Linked DNA regions of Homo sapiens: region 2 is linked to region 1. Evidence: promoter capture Hi-C in 16 types of primary human blood cells and fetal thymus (Javierre and others, 2016). All regions are on one chromosome and are shown on one strand. Each heading gives the region's core, a stretch centred on a gene start or on the middle of the fragment in contact. The rest is flanking DNA. Distances are from core to core; before and after follow the strand shown. Region 1 holds the start of DHDDS (dehydrodolichyl diphosphate synthase subunit). Region 2 has its middle 11 kb from the start of PDIK1L.

The links. Contacts are between HindIII fragments. The CHiCAGO score rates a contact against its expected background, and 5 or more counts as called.
Region 2: a fragment that was not itself captured here is called in contact with the fragment with the promoter of DHDDS in region 1 in 2 of 17 cell types (naive B cells and M2 macrophages); the score reaches 8.2 in naive B cells.

Annotation. Positions count from the first base shown.
Region 1 is chr1:26,430,211-26,435,302 of GRCh38, forward strand. It overlaps DHDDS (dehydrodolichyl diphosphate synthase subunit), which reads left to right and starts at 2,111. Exons shown (of 9, transcript NM_205861.3): 1 at 2,111-2,166; 2 at 2,681-2,798. The coding sequence starts at 2,736. LOC124903883 (a long non-coding RNA gene) reads right to left here and starts at 2,027. Exons shown (of 2, transcript XR_007065557.1): 1 at 1,763-2,027; 2 at 545-908. RefSeq lists enhancers at 1,330-1,866, 1,651-1,710, 1,781-1,840, 1,867-2,403, 1,941-2,430 and 1 more. The HindIII fragment of the contact is 8,751 bases long and covers 1-5,092 here.
Region 2 is chr1:26,098,408-26,103,499 of GRCh38, forward strand. No RefSeq gene overlaps it. Among named protein-coding and RNA genes, the nearest start is that of PDIK1L, 11 kb to the right of the region's middle. The HindIII fragment of the contact is 1,917 bases long and covers 1,841-3,757 here.

The sequences.
Region 1 (5,092 bases), core at 861-3,360:
TACATCACAAGTCATCAAGCAAGAACACTGAATTTTAAACATCTATTCCCACTAAGGGAAGGAGGATTTTAAAAAGGAAAAAAAAAAAACTTGATTGGAGGCAAACCAAGTATATTAACACCGTGCAAGGAAACAGGGAAACTGGTTTAAATCCTCAAGCCTGACATTATAAGAGTAAGGGTAAGAAGTTTCATAATCTACTCCAGGGACTTTGTGGCTCCTTAATTGTACCAAAAGTCAAAGCTGACAGTAGAACCTCATGAAGCAGCAAACTACTAGTGGACTTCATTAAATTGTCTTGCTGCAAAATGAAGTAACTTGGACTGAAATTTACTCCCCAGGCTGCAAAGCAGGAAGGATGGAAAAGCTCAACACTATTCATTTCTACTCATCTCTAGGGCTTTCTTTCATCATGTTGCTGTGTTAAAATAACCCCTTTCATTAGAAAGAGTGGAAGACATAATCAATTAGAAAGTGCCAATAAAACATCTCTTCCTTGCCTCATTTCTTTAATAATATTGTAAAATGAAATGCGACAAAAAGGTTCTTTGACAATTGTGAATTTTTATTCCACTCAAAACATAATACTACATAAAGTTGTATTATGCTTTGCAAGAAATACTGGTTGTGGCCGGGCGCGGTGGCTCACGCCTGTAATTCCAGCACTTTGGAAGGTCTAGGCAGGCAGATAACGAGGTCAAGAGATCAAAACCATCCTGGCCAAAATGGTGAAACCCTGTCTCTACTAAAAATACAAAAATTAGCCAGGCTTGGTGGCACGCGCCTGTAGTCCCAGCTACTCAGGAGGATGAAGCAGGAGAAACGCTTGAACCCGGGAGGCGGAGGCTGCAGTGAGCCGAGATCGCGCCACTGCACTCCAGCCTGGGCGACATAGCCAGACTCCGTCTCTAAATAAATAAATAAATAAATAAATAAATAAAAATAATACTGGTTGTATAAGAATCTGTAAAGAATTTTTTCCTCCTCTTTCAATTTTGAGAAAATTGAACTACAAATTTGTTTTGTGAGCCTAGAATTCTTGCAACCCTTTTTTTCGTAAAGGTTCAGTAGAGCTAATGCCCTTAACTTTTCTACCAGGGTTAATTTCTGTTATTTTCATTTATGTACTGCCAAAGCGAGCACCTTTCTGTTATTTTAGAAGTCATGCTTTTTTTTTTTTTCTTTTTTCAGACAGAGTTTCGCTCCTGTTGCCCAGGCTGGAGTGCAGTGGCCTGATCTTGGCTCACCGCAACCTCCGCCTCCCGGGTTCAAGCGATTCTCTTGCCTCACCCTCCCGAGTAACTGGGATAACAGGCGCCCGCCACCACGCCCGGCTCATTTTCTGTATTTTTAGTACAGACGGGGTTTCACGATGTTGGTCAGGCTGGTCTCAAACTCCTGACCTCAGGTGATCCGTTCGCCTCGGCCTCCCAAAGTGCTGGGATTACAGGCGTGAGCCACCGCGCCTGGCCTAGAAGTCATTCTTATGGCAGAAATCTTTCTGGCCTTACCCCTTCTCTTGAGTTCGTTGGGATAGGTCTTGGGAATCCACAAATCCTAAAATATGCGTGCCTTAAGTCGGCACAAAATAGATTAATATTCTGCGCGTCTGTAAGATTGGCTGCGGCTAGAAACTCCTTCCCAGACGATTAAATCCACTAAATAAAATACGAAACGGTAACGAGATAATTTTTAAGAGTATGCACCAGTGCTCTAATGAAGCCCGGTTCTGCGGCATTCCAAGGTAAGGACGCTGCCTTACCCAGTCTCTCAGCAGTCCTAAGCTGCCTTCGACGGCCGAGAAGCGCCTCGATTCTTGCCCCTGGCTCATTTCCCTGGCGCGTTTTCCAGACGCCTCCGCTCCCAACGCTGGGCTCAACCCTGTCTTCCCCAGCTGGTCTCCCAGCACGTGGCCTGGAGCCCAGCCTCCCGCCCCGCTCGGTCACGTGAGCCTGGCTCTCACCCGCGCCGGCTTCCACACCCCGCGGGACTGAGAACCGCCCTCCCACTAGCTCGCAGGCGCAGGCGCAGGGCAGGGTCCCCTCAGTTTGGGTGACGGAAGGGGCGTGTCGCAGCGCCCAAAGATGACGTGTTCTGCCAGCGCCACGTCATGAGGAAGTGCCGGCCCACTGAAGCCGTGGGGACGCGCCCAGCGGAGCTAATCAGGTGCCACTGAACTGAAGGGGTGAACTAGAGGAGAAGAGGGTGACTGGGCGGGGAGCAGCTGCGGGAGAAGCAAAGGGACGACTGAGGGAATAATCAGGAGACCACTGAGGCGTGAAGTACTAGGCGTGCGATAACTGAAGGAGTTAGTAACTGGGAGCACAGAGTTGGAAACAGCTTAGGGGAAGATGGAGAAGGAAGAAACGGGGAATGATCAAGATGTGGGCACCATGATGTGGCAGGAAACCGACTTAGATGTTCAGAAGAAGTCAGTGCAGATACGGAGGAAATGGGAATGGGAAGAAGTCTGCAAAGCCAGGAGAACCGAGGAAAGGCTTTTGCCTCCAGAGGTCACATTGCGTTATAAAACTCTGGGTGGTAAAAGATTATAGGCTTAGACCAGTGTCTTTGGATTCTAATGCTGGCTGCTCTCCATAGTCCATCTGATTCCCCAGAAGTCAGTTATAGCTCTTCGCAAACCTTGGTGACTTCTTATTTTCTTTCTTGTTTATCCAAGATTACCTGGCTGGTGTTTGCTTGTTCTGGAGTGATCTTCTGACTGGAAAAGAACTATGTCATGGATCAAGGAAGGAGAGCTGTCACTTTGGGAGCGGTTCTGTGCCAACATCATAAAGGTGAGCAATGGCCCAGAGCACCGGTTGGCCTTCTGGTCAGTTGGATAATCTTATATAAAAACCTGTTATTAAAGTTGATGATGTTAAGTGCAATTCATGATGTTAAGTGGAATTTAGCAAGGAAACCAAAGAGTCTTAGAATGGTAACTTCCAGGTCTACATTTCTGGTAGACTTTTGTCCTAACTCTGATATTTTCTGGAAGCCCAGGCCTCTTAATGTCACTGGGCAGCCTAGACTGCTAAGTATTCTTTATAGAGAACTGAAATTTGTTTCCCTGGAACATTGATCCATTGTTCCATGTACTGTCTTCTTGATTTAAATAGGTTAATCTTTGATATATTCTTTGATCTGTCAGTAGAGCTGGGCCCGGTCACTCACGCCTGTAATCCCAGCAATTTGGGAGGCTGAGGTGGGCAGATTGTTTGAGCTCAGGAGTTGAGACCAGCCTGGGCAACATGGCAAAACCCCGATTCTCCAAAAAATTAAAAAAATAGCAGGGCTTGGTGGTGTGCACCTGTAGTCCCAGCTACTCGGAAGGCTGAAGTGGGAGAATTTCTTGAGCCCAGGTCAAAGCTGCAGTGAGTCATGATTGTGCCACCACACTCCAGCCTGGGTGACAGAACGGGACTGTCTCAAAAAAAAGAGTTCAGAACAAGACTCTGTCTCAAAAAAAAAAAAAAAAAAAGAGTTTGGGCTCTAGACGCAGACAAACATGGGTGAAATTCCTGTTCTTTTTTTTATTTTGAGATGGAGTCTCGCTCTGTCGCCCAGGCTGGAGTGCAATGGCGCAATCTTGGCTTACTGCAACCTTCATCTGCCAAGTTCAAGCAATTCTCTTGCCTTAGCCTCCCAAGTAGCTGGGGTTACAGGCATATGCTACCACACATGGCTAATTTTTATATTTTTAGTAGAGATGGGATTCTCATATTGGCCAGGCTGGTCTCGAACTCCTGACCTCAGGTGATCCACCTATCTCAGCCTCCCAAAGTGCTGGGATTATAGGACTGAGCCACTGCACCTGGCCTGAAAGTCCAGTTCTATCATTTAGTAATCATGTGACTTTAACAACTGTAGAATTATCATGAGAATTTATGAGACATTAATATAAAGCAGTTAGCATAATGTCTAGCAGTTCTTAATTATTATTAGGATTGTCTTTCAGACATTTGAAGACTATTATCTCCTATCTTCCCCAAATCTTCCCTCAGCTTTTTCTCTAGGAATCACAGCAATATTATATCTGCCTAAGACAGGTTTGAGATTGGGGCCAGTCAGCTTGGTTTTGTTTTTCAACCACAGGCTGTCAAGCAGCAGGTAGTAATGAATTTATGAGTCAGTAACCTTTATACAAGCCCCACACATGCTCACAAACAAATGCCAAGTGATCTCAAGCAGTCCAGGAAATGGGAAGTATCTCCTTGGGGAACCACTGCAGTGGTATGTTTGGAAGAACAAGCTGCATAACTTGAATGGATTTTGGGGGCTGGAAAGGCTGTATGTGAGACAGAAGTAGAAAAAGGAGAAGTGTTGATGAGGAAGCAGTCAGGGAAGAGCCCTCCCAGGTGAGGAAAAATAGGCTAAGGAGTCCATTTGTGTTATGGGAGACAACTCAAAGCTGCTCCAAGCCAAATAAGGGTTTTGTTTTTTGTGGTTTCTTTTTTGAGATGCAGTCTTACTCTGTTGCCCAGGCTAGAGTGCAGTGGTGCAGTCTTGGCTTACTGCAACCTCTGTCTCCTGGGTTCAAGCGATTCTCCCACCTCAGCCTCCCCAAGTAGCTGGGATTATAGGCACCGGCCACCATGCCTGGCTAATTTTTTTTTTTTTTTTTTTTAGTAGAGTTGGGGTTTCACCATGTTGGCCAGGCTGGTCTCGAACTCCTGGCCTCAAGTGATCTGCCCACCTCAGCCTCCTAAAGTACTGGGATTACAGGCTTGAGCCACCACGTCCGGCCCCAAGTAAGTTTTGTTTGGCTCAAAAAAAGTCTTTTTTGTTTGCTTTGAAAAACAATTTTTTTTTTTCAGACAGAGTCTCACTCTGTCGCCCAGGCTGGAGTGCAGTGGCACAATCTCAGCTCACTGTACCCTCTGCCTCCCCGGTTCAAACAATTCTCCTGCCTCAGCCTCCCGAGTAGCTGGGATTACAGGCGCTCGCCACCACGCCCGGCTAATTTTTCTTTATTTTTAGTAGAGACAGGGTTTCACCATTTTGGCCAGGCTGGTCTTAAACTCCTGACCTCGTGATCCACCCGCCTCGGCCTCCCAAAGTGCTGGGATTACAGGCATGAGCCACTGCG
Region 2 (5,092 bases), core at 1,549-4,048, 330 kb before region 1:
GAGTAGATGGAATTACAGGCATGTGCCACCATGCCTGACTAATTTTTGTACTTTTAGTAGAGACAGAGTTTCACCATGTTGGCCAGGCTGGTCTCAAACTCCTGACCTCAAATGATCTGTCTGCCTTGGCCTCCTAAAGTGCTGGAATTACAGGTGTGAGCCGCCTCACCCAGCCTAGAGTGATCTTTTAAACTGGACATATGAGCGTGTTTAAAGTCTCTACTTAGTTGAATGTGTTGGCTCATAACTACAATCCCAACACTTTGGGAGGCCAAGGCAGGAGGATCACTTGAGGCCAGGAGTTCAAGTTTAGCTTGGGCAACATAGCAAGACTATGTCTCCACATAAGTAAATAAACAAATAATTAGCTGGGTATGGTTGCATGCACCTGTGGTCTCAGCTACTTGGGAAGCTGAGATGGGAGGATCGCTTGAGCCCAGGAAGTCAAGGCTGCAGTGGACTGCGATCGTGTCACTGTACTACAGCCTGGGCAAAGAGCAAGACCCTACCTCAAAAAAAAATAAAAATAAAATAAATAAAATCTTTACTTAAAACTCTTTGGTGATTGACAGGTTGACAGATGAACAAAATATAGTATATACACAAAACGGAATATTGTTCAGCCTTAAAGAGGAATGAAATTCTGACACATGCTACAACATGGGTGAAACTTGGAGACCTTACACTAAGTGAAATAAGCCAGACACAAAAAAATAAATACTGAATTATTCTATTCATATGAGGTACCTAGAATAGTCAAATTATAGAGACAGAAAGTAGAGGCTGGGTGCGGTGGCTCATGTCTGTAATCCCAGCACTATGGGAGGCCGAGGCTAGCAGATCTACCTGAGGTCAGGAGTTCGAGACCAGCCTGGCCAACATGGTGAAACCCCATCTCTACAAAAAATACAAAAAATTAGCCAGGTGTGGTGGCAGGCACATATAATCCCAGCTACTTGGGAGGCTGAGGCAGGAGAGTCGCTTGAACCTGGGAGGTGGAGGTTGCAGTGAGCTGAGATTGCGCCATTGCACTCCAGCCTGGGAGAAAAGAGTGAAACTCTGTCTTAAAAAAAAAAAAGTAAAATAGTGGTTATCCAGTTACCAGGGGCTGGGAAGAGAAGGAATGGAGAGTTATTGTTTAATGGATACAGAGTTGCAGTTTGGGATGATAAAAAAACCCCGAATGTCCGGGCTGGATGGTTCACACCTGTAATCCCAGCATTCTGGGAGGCTGAGGCAGGTGGATCACTTGAGGTCAGGAGTTCGAGACCAGCCTGGCCAACATGGTGAGACCTTGTCTCTACTAAAAATACAAAAATTAGCCAGACATGGTGGCACATGCCTATAGTCCCAGCTACTTGGGAGGCTGAGGCGGGAAGATTGTGTGAACCGGCAGGTGGGGGTTGCAGTGAGCTGAGATCACACCATTGCCCTCCAGCCTGGGAGACAGAACAAGACTTCATCTCAAACAATAATAATAAAAATAAAAGTTCTGGATGGTGGTGATGGTTGCACAACAATATAAATGTACTTAATGCCGTTGAACTATACAGTTAAAATGATTAAATCAGCAAATTTTATGTTACCTCTATTTTACCACAATTAAAAAAAAAATAGACCCTTGCTGACCTGTTGCTTTTATGCCCAAATCCATAACATGATCTACAAGACCCTACAGGATATCACCCCTGCTTGTGTAGGGGTTTTAAGGCTAAACCTTACAACTTATTCCCCCTCCAGTTGGGATCTGGACCTATTAGGAAATCCCAATGGCAATCAAGGCAATGGAGAGATAAAAATATGGGCCTTATTACTGATAAAGTTGGGCTTTGGAAGCAAAAGCTTGTATTTATACCCACAATGGAGCTTCCTAGTATCTTCCTCTCCCCATCGTTTCCCCCCAGCTCTTGATTTAAACTTCCAGCTGAGGCCTGCATAGAGCAGCTGGTACCGGCCGTCCTGAATGCCAAGCATGCTCCTCCCTCCGCTTCTCACTTAGCTCATTTCTGCCCCTCGGTCATTTCTTAGCATAAGTGTCACATGTGGCTGGGTGCATTGCCTCACGCCTGTAATCTCAGCACTTTGGGAGGCTGAGGCGGGCAGATCACTTGAGGCCAGGAGTTCGAGGCCAGGAGTTCAAGACCAGCCTGGCCAACATGGCGAAACCCCGTCTCTACTAAAAATACAAAAAATTAGCCAGGAGTGGTGGTGTGTGCCTGTAGTCCCAAGCTGTCTGTGAGGCTGAGGCAGGAGAATCACTTGACCCGGGAGGCAGAGGTTACAGTGAGCTGGGATCGCACTATTGCACTCCAGCCTGAGGAACGGAGTGGGACTGTCTCCAAAAAAAAAAAAGAAAAAAAAAAAAGGCCTCTGTCATATGCTCAGAGGCTTTCCGTGGCCCATACTACCTCCCTCCTCCCTGCCTCCTAATAAGTCTCATGCGCCCTAGAGCTTCTCCTGCATAGCGCTTTCCAGAACTGTATTTATGTGTCTCTTTCCATGATCATTGTGGGTGTAAATAAGAAGGCAAGTTTCATGAGAACAGGCACTGCGCTATGGTCTCCATGTGTCCCCCTAAAATTCATGTTAAAACTGAATTGCTAGTGTGATAAGAGGTAGGACCTTTAGTATGTGATTAAGTCATGAGGGTGGAGCCATCATGGGTAGGATTAGTGACCTTATAAAAAGCGTGCAAGGGGCCGGGCACGGTGGCTCATGCCTGTAATCCCAGCACTTTGTGAGGCCAAGGCAGGCAGATCACGAGGTCAATAGATTGAGACCATCCTGGCCAACATGGTGAAACTCCGTCTCTACTAAAAAAAAAAAAAAAAAAAAAAAATTAGCCAGGTGTGGTGGCACGTGCATGTAGTCCCAGCTACTCAGGAGGCAGAGGCAGGAGAATCACTTGAACCTGGGAGGCGGAGGTTGCAGTGAGCCGAGATTGTGCCACTGCACTCTAGCTTGGCAACAGAGCACGAATCCGTCTCAAAAAAAAAAAAAAAAAAAGATAAAAGGGGTGCAAGGGAGCTATTCATCCCTTTTTGCCCTTCCACTTCTGCCTTGTGAGGATGCAGCACCAAGCCACCATCTTGGAAGCAGAGACAGCAGCTCTCACCAGAGATGGAATCTACTGGCACCTTGATCTTGGTCTTCCCAGCTTCTAGGACTGGGGGAAGTAAATTTCTGTTGTTTATAAATTACCCAGTCTAAGGTATTTTGTTATAGCAGCATGAACAGACGAAGACACATTGTGTATGCCGTATGTTTCCTTCATGGCCACATCCCCAGTGCCTAGCACGGTGCCTGGCACTTTGGCTCCCATACACATTGCAGAATATTCCATTCACTAGCACTCCTCTCCAGGAGAGTTCTGTATACTGTTGGAAGACAAATGTGGATAAGGCTTGGGGCTGGGAGGTCAGGGGCCAGCCTAAGTAATATTCGCAGCTACATGAATTAGCGGGCCTTGTGGAGTCTACAGGTTTGTCCAGGGTCCAGGAGGTCAGGACCATCGAGAGGCTAAGTGTGGTTATCTGTGCCTCCTTCCCAGCCCCTGCTCTAAATAACCATAGAGCAAATATTTGAAGAATGTCAGCTTAAAGGAGTGTCTCACTCTGACCCTCAAATTTCTATTTATTTTTTAAATTGACAAAAATTGTATTTATTTACTCATATGTACAACATGATGCTTTGAAATATGAATACATTGTGGAATGGCTAAATTTAAGGCCCAGTGTAAATGCTACCTCCTCTCTAAAGCTTTCCTGCCCGCCATTCCCCTCCACAGAAGCACAGTTTGGATTTCCTCCCCTGGGCTATGTAACCTCAGCTGGCACTGGTTGAATTGTACTGTCTGCATATTTATATGTCTGTCTCCCCTCCCAGAGAAAGTCCATGAGGGCAGGGACCTTATCTTTCTGTTCACTGCTTTTTCTCAGCATCAAGCACAATTTCTTGCACGTGGTGGATATTCACCAAATAGCTGTTGACTTAACGAACAAAGTGCCACCATGTGCCAGGCACTAGTTGACTTCTGAAGAGAGGGGTATATGTCAAGACATTTGTTAGCCACCCACCAGCCTCTGAATTTAAGCCTGCCAGTAAGCCCCATCCTTCAGGACACAGAGCTTGGTCAAGGAGGGGCCCACAACCCTATCTCTTACCCCCTACTCCCTAGCCCCTAGCCAATCAGGTCCAACAAGACTTAATTTCAGGAATGTTGTTTGAGGAATAGAGAAGTTGACTTTCTCATTCCTGCAGGATATGATCTCATAAGGCTGAATTCCCACTGGTGACCCCGAGGCCCACAAGGGAAGCCAGCCTTAAGATGAAGGCAGCATCATGGGAGGCAGAACAGAGGAAACTAGAGTCTTTGGTGACATGTGAGCTGCTGAATCAAACTTCCTTCCCGAAGCTAGCCCTCCCACCTCCATTTCTCTTAGGTAAATGTACCAATCATTCCTTTCAGTCACTTTGAGTTGAGTTTCTGCTCTTGCAACATGAAGCATCCAGAAGAGGCCAGAGAATCAGAGGAAGCCGAAGCTTTAACACTTCAGGACCTGCTGAGGAGTCGGGTGAATCCTCAGTTTGGGACACTCCCAACACCCCCATCCAGCATGGTTTTCAGATGGTGGCATCCCCAGCAGCTCTTGGACCCAGGGGCAGGAGATGTGAACCTGGGTCTTAACCATCAGCTGCTCCAGCTGTTCTCAGTCCTCACCAAGAAGACAACTAGGACCCATCCAAAGACAAAAACAGCTAATGTTATACCTGGTGCAAGACCTTTGTGGGCCCCCAGATCACTTGTCTCAGGGGCTGGATCAGAAATAAACATTTTGATCTTCTTATTACAAGCATAGTGGAGGTGTAGGATTCAAGAATCAGAGTGTTGGAGCTATAAGGATCCTTAGAGATGAGCTGGTCAGACCCCCTCATTTTGCAGATGGGGAGACTGAGGCCCACAGCAGGGGGGAGTCTTTCTTGCTCAAGATGACACAGCGTGTTAGTGCCAAAGCTAATACCCTTCCTAAAGGAGTTTCTCCCTCAGCCTCCCCCTGCAGAAATGGGGCTGGGGTGGCTGGGCACAGTGGCT